Linked DNA regions of Homo sapiens: region 1 is linked to region 2. The links are contacts of gene promoters, found by promoter capture Hi-C in human tissues and cell types (Jung and others, 2019). All regions are on one chromosome and are shown on one strand. The core of a region is centred on a gene start or on the middle of the fragment in contact, and the rest is flanking DNA. Distances in the headings are between cores, read along the strand shown.

Region 1 (5,853 bases), core at 103-2,602, 460 kb before region 2:
GATGGGTGCAGAGCTTAAATAACTCTACCATCCTCCTCCTTTATTCCCTACTTGCAAATCTCCCCCGTTTCTCCAAGTAGGCAAGGATATCTGTCCTGCAATGCAATAAGCACAATGCAAATGGTCTCCTAAGCTTCCTGAAACCTGCCCCCCACAAAAGGGAAAAGAGCAATTCATCTGTCAAGGGATTTTTTTTCTTTTTGCCACTCCCCAGGATCGGGGCAGTCAGAGGAAGACAATTTGGATGCCAAAATGTTGGAATCTCCAATATTTTCAAAAGTTTGGAAAGATCATGGTCCAGGAAATGCAGGCCCCGAGATAGTGGTGTTTGTGAGAGCAGGGAGGGCAAGGGAGAAAGGAGTTTCGTGATGTGTTGGGAGAGGCGGAGACAGCAATAATGCCCATCCTAGAATTAGGCTTTCTCCTGCAGGGGTTTGTGTTCCCCACTCCTTACAGCTGGTCTTCCTGTGGGTCTCCTCTTTCTAGGAGTGGCTATGAATCTGCATGTAAAGACTTTGTCCCTCATGACTTGGAGGTCCAGATTCCTGGAAGAGTCTTTTTGGTCACTGGAGGAAACAGCGGCATTGGCAAAGCAACTGCCCTTGAAATCGCCAAGCGAGGTAAGCAGCTGCTAACACGTGTGTCCACTGAGCCCCACGGCCAGACTGCGGCCGGTCCACACTGAGGAGGGCACCCTGTGTCACAGGCAGGCCAGGAAGTCCTGGACGGCGATCCCATGGTTCTGGGCACAGCTGCCAGCTTTCTGAGTTTTGAGCTCCAGGTGGCTAGAGCAACAGGAGCCCTTTCCTCAACACTTAATTAATTCTCAGGCGAGCTTGGGGTCCTGCCCACGTGTCCCAGTGTTTTCTGATTAAGAACAGCGAGGGGCTCAAGCAAACCCTGGACATCAGAATCCCCAGTGGAATTTAATTAAAAAAACAAAAACAAAAACATGAACACCTGGTCTCTAACTCATGTCTTCTCAATGAGACTCTCCTGGGGTGAGAGACAAGGGGAGGGGGAGCCTCAAAGTCCACTGCAATTTGGATGTGGATGGTAGTTATGAACCAAGGCCCCCAAAATACCTGGAGAGAGGAGTGCATTGAACTAAACTTCCTCCTTGCTGGGGTCCAGCCTCCAGGGCTAGAGCAGCCTCCCGCTTCCCTCCCCTAAGCTTGACTATAAAGAGGTGCTTCAGGTGCACTGTAAAGTCTTCAGTCAGCAGAAGTCTTCCTCATGGTAAATGCCAGAATTTCCTGCATGAGCTCAACGATCCTGGGTCACCAAATGGCTCTGCAGTGGCTAGAAAAGTTTGCTGCATCTCTCCAGAGCCTCTTCAGGAAAAATGGATGTTCCAGCAGAAGGTGGGGAACTAGGTTGTGAATTTATCACTTTTTAAGATGCTGAAGATGTTTTCTTTTTTCCTCTCTCTAAATCCAAGTTAGGCATTTTTCAGGGGACTATTATATCATTTGAAGCTTTATTTAATTATCTGCCAAGTCAGGGAGAGGATTAATTGCATCTTAGCAGCTGGGAAGCACTCTGAAGTGCGGAGAGGAGGAGAGAAGAGGGGCTAGTGTTGTGGTTAGCCTGTAGCCTCCCATGAAACACCCCATTTAATCAAGTGGGTGATTTTTAGTAAAGAAAGCAGACTCCATAACGATTCGTTCTTAGCTGCCACGGCGAAGGCATTCTGCTTTAAATTGACCTTGATTGATGATGGTGTGGCATTTGCTGGGATAATATGAGGGCTGCTGATGGACTCAACATTCAGTCAATACTTGAGTCTCTACTACATGCTAGGCAAGTGGCTGTCTACTTTGGCTGAACATTACATCACCAGGGGAGCTTGTAAAACATACCCAGTCCTGGGCCTATCGCCTAGATCTTTAAAAGCTCCCTACATGAGTCTAAAGTGCAGCCAGGTTTAACACATCTGGGTCAGCTACTATGCTAGATGCTAGGGAGGCATATGTGACCCAGATCAATGTTTCTTATCCTTGATGTGTTCAGGCCCTCAAAAAATCAGGATGTTATTCCAGACGCACTGTCAGCACAGGTAGGCAATAAGGTTCCAGCACCTCCCTCACCATCGCCCTTGCTGCTCTTAACTCTGGGAACCACCCATCTAGGCTTAACAGAAGAGTGTCAACTGTGAGCCCATATGTCTTCATTTTTCATTAGGAAGAGCTGGTTTCTGTAGCTCTCGCTGTAACTCACAGATGGTTTCATTGAATTCCACCAGGTGGCACAGTTCACCTGGTTTGTCGAGATCAAGCCCCAGCAGAAGATGCCAGGGGTGAGATCATCCGGGAGAGCGGTAACCAGGTGAGCAGCTCCTCACCCCTCCTGCTGGGTTTCCTTGCCTCCATGGTCAGCTGTGAGGAGGCTGGACTCCTACCCGCTTTCCCTGGGTTGAAGAGGGCCTGTGTTTGTGCTTCTGCTTTGGAAGCAGCCTCGGCCAGCAGGGAGCTGGGCCCTGCTTTTGAATGGCTAGGTTTGACAAGGGGATAAGTGGGGGCACTGAGGCTTGACCGCATGGTCCTGAGCTGCCTGTGAAACCAGCAGAGGCCAGCAGGCAGAGGCCCATTACACTGGACAGTGATACTTCCAGTCTCCTCACCTCAGAGGGAGCCCACATCAGCAACACACAGCAAGGGTCACCCGGGTGCCACGGAGCCATGCATTGACCCGATGTGCTCTAATAAAGAGAAACACCGGCAGCATTTGGGTCTTGATGAGAGCTACTTTCTGACACGAGCCTTCAGAGCTGCCTCACATTTTGTGGTCTTTCTGTTCTGAAAGAGCTGGAACCAGGATTGGCTACATAATTAGTGGGGCTCGGTGCAAAATGAAAATGCAAGACCCTTGTGTAAAAGTTATTTAGAATTTCTACACAACAAAGGCAGGACATTAAACCAAGCTTGAGGCCTTTCCAGTCGCAGGGCGTGTGCAGCTGTATAGATCATATTCCCATGATCCATCGTGTAGCCATAAGGCTGCCCTGAATGGAAAACCCTGACCCCCAAAAGGACCCTCAGTCATGGCTGCTCGCTCACTGTCACTAAAGAACATCCTCATTCCATTCCTACCTCTTCTCTAGGAGACCCCACAATTGGAGGGCCTGTAGGAGGGAAGCTGGGGAGGGACAGACAGTACCCACCCTCAGGCATGGACCCTGGTCAAAGAGAAGAATGCCCCTCTCTAGGATGGAATATTTTGCATCAACTTTGAAATAACATTTTCACACCAAGTGTCTGTTCCTTTCCCTTTCTCATGGAAATCCCCAGTCTCATGCCATCAGGTGCCTTACAGAGGCTTAGTGCTGGCGGCAAGTGTGAGGGTCTCTAAATCTTCCTCTAATGTCTGCAAGTGCCGCTGCGATCTGCGGGCTGCAGTTCTCGAGATTGAAAGCTGGCTGTCTGCCTGCTGATAACTTTCGGTGGTGCTGCTGCAGGATGCAACAAGAATACTAATCTCAGGCCACGGACAGGAGGAGGTTTGCCTGGATTCCAGCCTGCTGTGGTGTGGGCCACAGGCTTTAAAAAGTATATTTAAATGAAAAATGATGATAATATGGATCTGTTTGGCTTATATCTAATTCCACCATGTTTAGGAGGGGTAGAGAGCTGAAAAGGGGAGCAAGCATGTTCCTGCACTGGGGAGAAAGCAAGCCCTTGCCTACTGCCCCCCTCACCTCCATACAGATACACTTGACGGGATTTGAATGCACACACAGGACATTCACTGCTCTCTCGGGTTTATAAGTGGCCTCCAGCACTCAGAGGTGGAGCGTCCAGGATGAGGGTACCTGTCTGCTTATGCCAGTGTCTGTGGTTTCCCTGACTCAGTGTCTCCTCCAGGCTCTGCCAGGGATCAGCTGTCCCTCCCTGCTTATGAAGAGGCCCCACTCCACAGCTTCATCTGGTCTACCTTTGGTAGGCAGCCCACACACAAAAGCGTGGTATGAAGGAGGGAGTTGGGCTCTGATACGAGTCCTGGTTTTGCACTTTCTGGCCTGTGAGCTTGGGCAAAGTTCTTAGCTTCCCTGAACATTCATTTCCTCATTAAAAAATAGGGGTAACTTGACTTTATTAGTTTTTTAACATGTATTTAAGGGTGAACCGTATGCCAAACAGCTGGAGACACAGTGATTGGGACAGACACAGCCCCAGACAGTCTTGTGCAGGATACAAGTGATTAACAGTTTCCTTGAAGTGTGTGTGCCTGCCCTGGGCCTGGCCGCCATGCTCTGTATCATAGTGGGGGTGGGTTGGGGGACAAATAGTATGAACCCCAAGGTATGTGTTTCTTCAGCTCCTACAACCAGACAGCTTTTGGCTGGGTTTGGCCAATGGCAGTTACTAGAGGAAGATTGCTAGGTGAAAGGAAGGGGGGAATTGAGATATTGGCTTCCCTGGTGATGGCGAATCTCCTCTCTGGTTCTTCCTTCTGGTTCCTGGGCTCAGGCCACACTGCATTCTCCCTTTGTTCCTTGAGCCTAGGGCTGGTGGTAGTTTCCTGTTGTTACTAATCTCTGGGTTACTTCACCAATCCTGGTTGAGTTCTCACCTTCCTTAATCACCTGGGAAATCAATCCCTGCGTTCAGTTCCCTCTGTTGAAAGAGGTGTCTGTTAGATGTTACTGAAATAACATGATAAGGGCTACAAGATGGGAAGCTCAGGGTATCCTAAGAACAAACAGCTCTCAATCAATAGAAGTAGCTACTATTATTATTGTTGGTATTATCATTATTGTTTATACTAATATTATTACCACTCCCAACCTTACATTCTCTGCTTCAAGTGTGTTCTGTTTAATCAGTGCTTAGGCCCTGCTCAGTGGGAGGTGGAAGCCTGCAAGCCCCCAGTAGCAGAAAAGATGTGTGGTAGAGCTGTGAGGGCAGTGGAGCAGCTGGTCCTGCGTGCATGGTTGGGTGAACATCAAAGAAAGAAGGTCCCTTGGGCAGGAGGGTCTGGGTGAGGTGTGCGGCAGGCCAGCTGAGCCAGGGAGCACAGGCACCAGGTAAGGCTCAAGGTCACGTGGGGATCTCAGCTGCTTGTACACGCTGGCTTGGTAAGATCAGGTGTTTGGCCATATAGAGAGGTGAATATCATGCTGAGGTGATCTTTCAGAGAGGTTATGTGTGGCTTAAGCTTGGGGAAAGGAGTACTGGTTACTGTAGAGCAGACTGCTGGCTCACCAGTCCACTGGACACGATGCTCCCAAAGGGCCTAGGGGAGAAACAGGGTGTACCTTTTTCCCCAGGCTTCTGGTTGCAGTTCAGCCCCACCTTAGTACCTGGCTCCAGACTTTCGTCTAGCAGTTATCTCCATGGGTAACATTAAAAAAAAAAAAAACTTCTATTTTATGTATTATTTTTTGAGATAGGCTCTCGGGATTTTTGAGATAGGCTATTTTTGAGATAGGCTTTCACAGTTGGGATTTGTCTGATGTCTTTCTGATGATTACACTGGAGTTATGGGTTTTAGAGGGAAAGATCACAGAGGGACAGGTGCCTGGGCAACATTTTTCAGTCCTGCAGGCCTCCTGATGTGGCTGGAAGGTTCTGTGAAAGCACTTATGTCTTATGGGTGATTGACTCCACCAACATCACACACCATGATAAAAAACGGGTTTCGACTCTCCAGCTCTTCCAGGCCAATGTGGATTTCTAGCTTCTTGAGAATGGTTGATTTAGCTTCCCAAGACCTCAGTGGTTTTATGAAATACCGCCTCATTTCTCCAGAATGATTTCTACTTAACAAAACACCTCCATGCACTGTTTACCGTGCTCATTGTGGGAACTGCTCTGATGGGGGGATCAGTCCCCATGATGTCACCTCATGACT
Region 2 (5,526 bases), core at 911-3,410:
CTCTGTGAACTTGAGCAAGTTGCTTCAACTCTCCATGCCTATTTGCTCATCTCTGAAATTGGGATGATAATAAAATTATCATCCTCAACAGAGCTGTTGTGACAATTAATTCAATTAATGTTTGTAAGTGCCTCCAGCACTGCCTGGCACCTAGGAAGGCACTATGCTAGGGTGTGTCAAATGAAACTGAAACATTGCCATGAAACCTATTAGGTTAGAAGGGAACCTTAAAATTCAAGGGTCACCACCATCCCAAAGTCTGAATGCCTTCTGTCACAGACCTGTCCAGTGATCACTCTTCCCCATGTGCACACCATAGGGAGCTGAGCTCCCTATCTCCCAGGTAGCCTGAGCAGCAGGGTGAGCTGGAGAGAGTGAGTGTGAGTATGAGCAGCAGGGTAAGCTGGAGAGAGTGAGTGTGAGTGTGAGCAGGAGGGTGAGCTGGAGAGAGTGTGAGTGTGAACAGGAGGGTAAGTGAGTGTGCACGTGGGCAGGCCTCTTACCATGGACAGTGTACCCCAGGGCATCTGCCAGCTGCTGACCAGTGCTCCCTTCTGCTCCAAACTGCAGGATCTCCAGGGGGAGGGACACACCAGCAGGAGAGATGACAAAGTTCGTCTCATTTCTACACGCGGCCACACTCTGGTAGAGGTGAAGTGCAAACTCAGTCTTCAGCAATGTCATTCCTTCACGGAGGTGGCCATTTGCTCGGAGGCAGCAAGAGTGAAAGAGGAAGAGGGTGATCAGGAAAGGCGGCATGGAGGCTGGGAGGGTTCCTGCAATTCAGAGGGAAGAGATGCAGGGTAGGCTGGAAGCTGGTGATGAAAGAGGGCCATGTCCCACAGAGGACTGGGACCCCCAGCTCTGTTTTTAGGGGCTAGGGACGGCTGAGGGAGAGATGCATTGAGCTGTCTTGGTTACCTACCCTGAGGCCCAGCCGTCTGGGCTGCAGAGCTGCACCCTCTTGTTTCAGCATTAGAAATACTCACTGTGGTCCTTTGGCAGCCAAACTGTGGGTCTGAAGATCTGCTTCGGCCACTTACTGGATGTGTGACTTTAGCAAAGCCCTGGTCAGATCAGAAGCAAAGCATTATGTTGGGAAAAGAAATGTAAGAGGTAATCCTACTCATTGTTCTTGGTATATAGTCAGCTTATAGCTGTGCTGTGTCTATCAGGAATAATAATAAATAATTATCTACTATGTTAAAAAGGACTTTGTACATTTGCAGTTAATCATCCCAACAATCTCACTAGTATCTGTTATTATATTTCATCTATAAAGAGGATGATTGAACCTTTGAGGCCCAGTGACTCATTTGTATGGGGAAAGAAACAGTGCTGTGACTCAAATCCTGGTCTTCTATGAGTGGTATATAAAATTTTGAGAATACCTATGTGAATTAAAATATTGATACATGAACTAATTGTACCTCGAATATCAGAATTCTTGTGATGCAAATTAGTCTCTAAAAAAGAATATTTTCACAAAGATAGTTCCTACCCCAGAAATGTACTCTTCCAAGGAAGAGAGATCATTAACTAGAAAATAATGCAAGAAGAGAAAGGCAAAGTAAAAAAATGTTTTCAACGACCATGCCACACATCCAGCCAGCAGCAGTTTTTGTTAAGTTGTCTGACTGTGGTATCATACCAAACTGATGTAAGAAGAGGTCCAGAGTCACTTCCTGGACTCACCAGTGAGCAGCTCACCCTGCTACTCACGCTCACACTCACTCTCTCCAACTCACCCTCCTGTAGAAGTTTACAAGCAAGGCCACTGAGCACGATGGTGCCTATTTTAGGTAAAGGTCCAAGATAGAAAACATCTTCTCTTTTTTCCAACCCTTCCTCCCTACAGCCAAGTACAAATGCAGTGCTTGGATGACCTTGGTACATAGGGCTCTCTCTCTCTCTCTTTCTTTCTATGTGTGTGTGTGTGTGTCCCAGCCCAGGGTCATTTGCAAAACTCTTAAGCCCCAGGGTTCTCACAGCTCTTATAACCTCCCATCTCCCACAAGAACACTCTCAGCAATCAGACCTTGATGCCCCTGGGCTCCCCATGAACAAATCCCTGTCATGGCTCACCTCGAATGAGCCACGTACTCACAGACTTTTGTATCACTGTTGCACGTTTCCTTGCTCGACTCTGTTCTTGTGGGTCTCCAGCATTCATGTGCTCCCCTTTTAAAAAAGTGGAGCAGAATCTGCTTTGAATCACAAGACAGCACAGAGAGGAAGCTGGCGATTGCCGTCTCTGCCGGCGATGTCTCTACCACTCGGTCCAAATTCCTGGAGCCTGGAGGTCCTGCAGAGAGCCAGGAGAAGCAGCCCAGCCCAGGGCAGCAAAGCCCAGATCGGGAACAGAGCAGGGCCGTGGGGGGAGAGCCAGCCACACCCGTCAAGCCTTCTTAGGCTTGTGACCTGGTTGTACCAGCAAGGAACCCCTCATCCAGCCCTTTGTCACATTGAGGAATTCCACTGATAACTTTGCTTGTTGGGCTTTTGCTGGGTACCAGGTACCTAATGCTTCCCCCCTCCTCCTGTGAAGAAAACAATAAATCAGTCATTGGGCATGACTTAAAACTTTCAGCAAATGAAAAGAAATTCTGCAAAAGAGAAAACAACGCAAGATATGGCACGATCAGTTCGGAGCAGGGTGACTTGCCTCATTTATTATTTATCAAAGTGAATGCACTAATTTATATATGTAACTTGAGTTATTAATAATCTGGTTCTTCTCAGATACAACAGTTCGTAAGTCCAATGACTAATTTGAGAAAGAGACCATGTTGTCAACGAGTAGACACATATTTTTGAAAAATATGAGCAGGTTCTGTCAAAAGTCTGTCCTTGTGATCAATTCAGAATTACATACATTTTTATTAAGGACTTAGGCCTTGTATTAAGTTCAAAATAGATGGTAGCTTATATGTGGTTACAGATTAAAGAAGAACTGAATGCAATTCTTAATAATTATCTCTCAGGCATCTGTAAGTGTTAATATTTGAAAATCAATGGACTGTTTTCACTTGACAACTACCCCTGTAATCAGTGGGTAATTCACTTTAAAGAGTTTTATTGCTGACACCCAAACCTGGGATTGTTTACAGGTCTTAGGATAGTTACAGTTCTATAATTGCATCACATAAAATATCCCCAAATCTTTACTTTAGATTCAATGCAATTGTGAATGGACAGGGTATTCTCTAAGCCATAGTATGAAAGGAGAATAAACAGGTTTAACTTATTCTATAGCACCCAGAGAGGGCATATCATTCATCCATCTGTCCATCTGTCCATCCATCCATGCATCCATCAATCCATCTGTCCATTCATCTGTCCATCCATCCGTCTGTCCGTGCATCCATCCATCCATCCATCCATCCATCCATCCATCCATCCACCTATCCATCCATCCAACAAATATCTCTTGATCACCTGCTTGGTCACAAATCACTGTGCTGCTAGGTTCTGGGCATATGGCAGTGAACCAGTAACCTGGGCTCAGCTTCTATGGGACTTAGAGTCTTGCTCACTGCCTGCGTATTTTAGATGTTGATGGTGATGGAGCGGCAGTAACTTGTGAGGACTGCCTTGTCACATTGTGAGCTGCCTGTAGCAGGAATTCCAGGGGAAACAGCTGATTCACTATTTGCCAGTGGTAGCAGTGGAGAGAAGCTTATAAAAAGATTTCCCAAATTAAAAAAAGGTTGTTTGTGTAACTTCTACAAACATTTCTTTCTAACTCTATGAATATGCCATTCTAACTTGCTTTTAAGAAGCATCCTTCGGGAAAAATGCTAGGGAAATTTAACATACAGGATATATTTTCTATATAGGCTAAACATTTCAAAGTGTGAATGAATGAAAGATGAACTGCAAGTGATTTTTCTTCTGTGTACTCAGCCTTGAACCTGGGTAAGTCACTGTGGTCTCTGACCATTTAAGCAGAGATTATCATGTTTATTTCTATCTTGCTGGGATGGATGTTCATTATACTGCTAAGTGAGGCTCCATTCTTGGAGATATTTATTTGTAATTTTAACAACATATATAGAGAGCATTACTGAGCACTTACTGTGTTCCAGCTACTCTATTAGACCCTGTCCATTCACAATTGCAATGAATCCTCACAGCAATCCTATGAGGAATGTATTATCATTCCCATTTTGCAGATGAAGAAACTAAGTCTGAAGAGCTTAAGATCTTGCCTAAGGTCCCACCAGGCCAAGCTGGGGTTTGAACCTAGGGCCACCTTGACACTAAGGCACATGCCCTTCATCACAGTCTTGGTGCTGTCAGGAGCCAAGGGATGAGGTCTCTTAAAATCCCTCTTGGCTGTAGGATTCTAAGCCTTTCGATGGCCAGCCCAGACTGTTTTGCTCGTAATGCGTGTTCACTTTGCCCACATTTACCAGGAATGCTGTGGTGAATCACCTGTAGGTAGACTGCTATGAGGCCCAGCACTTTTAAAAATTATGGTTTAACATTTTTCACTAGCCGATTCTTATAAACAAATCACTTTCAAATCCAAAGGTCTACCAAACTAATGTGATGGATAGAAGCATTGCATTTCAATTCAGTAAGGACATAATTAATAGGTAGGCATCTCCTTTGTGCTTGTATGGGCTGCCTGTCTGGGGTTGTACAGGAGGAGTCCCATTTGTAGCCCTGACCTTGAGGATTTTGCCATGAAGAGAGAGCACACCCACTGAGGAAGACATGGGCACTGTTAAAAGAAGTCTGAGGGAACAGCTAGAGCAAGCCAGAGGGCAATGCAAGGTAGCCCAGCACATGGTGCTGCACAGCCAGATGAAATTAGCAAGTACTTCATGGGAAATGGTGCAGGTGAGCCTCCACCTGTCCTTCCAGGAAGGCAACGGCAAAGCGCTGCCGCTGGGCTTCCTGCTGTCCCGGCTGATAGCTGCAACACGGCCCTCTGGTACTTCACAGCTATGCAGTGCATAGACTCAAAATGAACCTGGGCCCCTCTACTTTTTGATACCTTTCAGAATGGTGTGCTGGAGAGAGCACAGTGGGCTGGCAGATTTTGGGCAAGTCACTGAATTGCTCTGAGCTTTAGTTGCCTCTTCTGCAAAGTGGGTGTATGATACCTACCTCTCACTGTGAAGATGACAGCAAACAGCCTTATCATGGTGCCTGATAAGCAGGAAAGGCTGAAAGCATCAACTTCTTTGGACTATGTCCCCATCTCTCATCTCATCTTACTTAAGAAAGGACCATCGAGGTCCTTTCATGCTCACATAAGAAGGGGCTTTGGAATCGTCATGTAACCGGCTGGACTATGAATCTATGCTGTTGTATCCAGAAATATGTTTTTATTTTTTTAATTAATTTTTTTTTGAGACAGGGTTTTGCTCTGTCACCGAGGCTGGAGTGCGGTGGCACGACCTCGGCTCACTGCAACCTCTGCCTCCCGGGTTCAAGCAATTCTCCTGCCTCAGCCTCGCGAGTAGCTGGGATTACAGAGGGCTGCCACCATGCCTGGCTAATTTTGTATTTTTA

Evidence for each region. Contacts are between HindIII fragments. The study calls those that stand out against the background at their distance.
Region 1: a contact is called between a fragment that was not itself captured here and the fragment with the promoter of SERPINE3 in region 2, in 2 of the 25 tissues and cell types used here (lymphoblastoid cells and mesendoderm cells).

What each region holds. Positions count from the first base shown.
Region 1 is chr13:51,794,301-51,800,153 of GRCh38, reverse strand. DHRS12 (dehydrogenase/reductase 12) reads left to right here. Exons shown (of 9, transcript NM_001377533.1): 2 at 487-620. The coding sequence starts at 495. Among named protein-coding and RNA genes, the nearest start is that of DHRS12, 6.9 kb to the left of the region's middle. RefSeq lists enhancers at 2,423-2,502, 2,573-3,101. The HindIII fragment of the contact is 5,377 bases long and covers 1-4,040 here.
Region 2 is chr13:51,336,325-51,341,850 of GRCh38, reverse strand. SERPINE3 (serpin family E member 3) reads right to left here and starts at 2,160. Exons shown (of 10, transcript NM_001386375.1): 1 at 2,108-2,160; 2 at 990-1,067; 3 at 504-776. The coding sequence starts at 759. It also overlaps a transcript of INTS6 not described here. The HindIII fragment of the contact is 9,065 bases long and covers 1,092-5,526 here.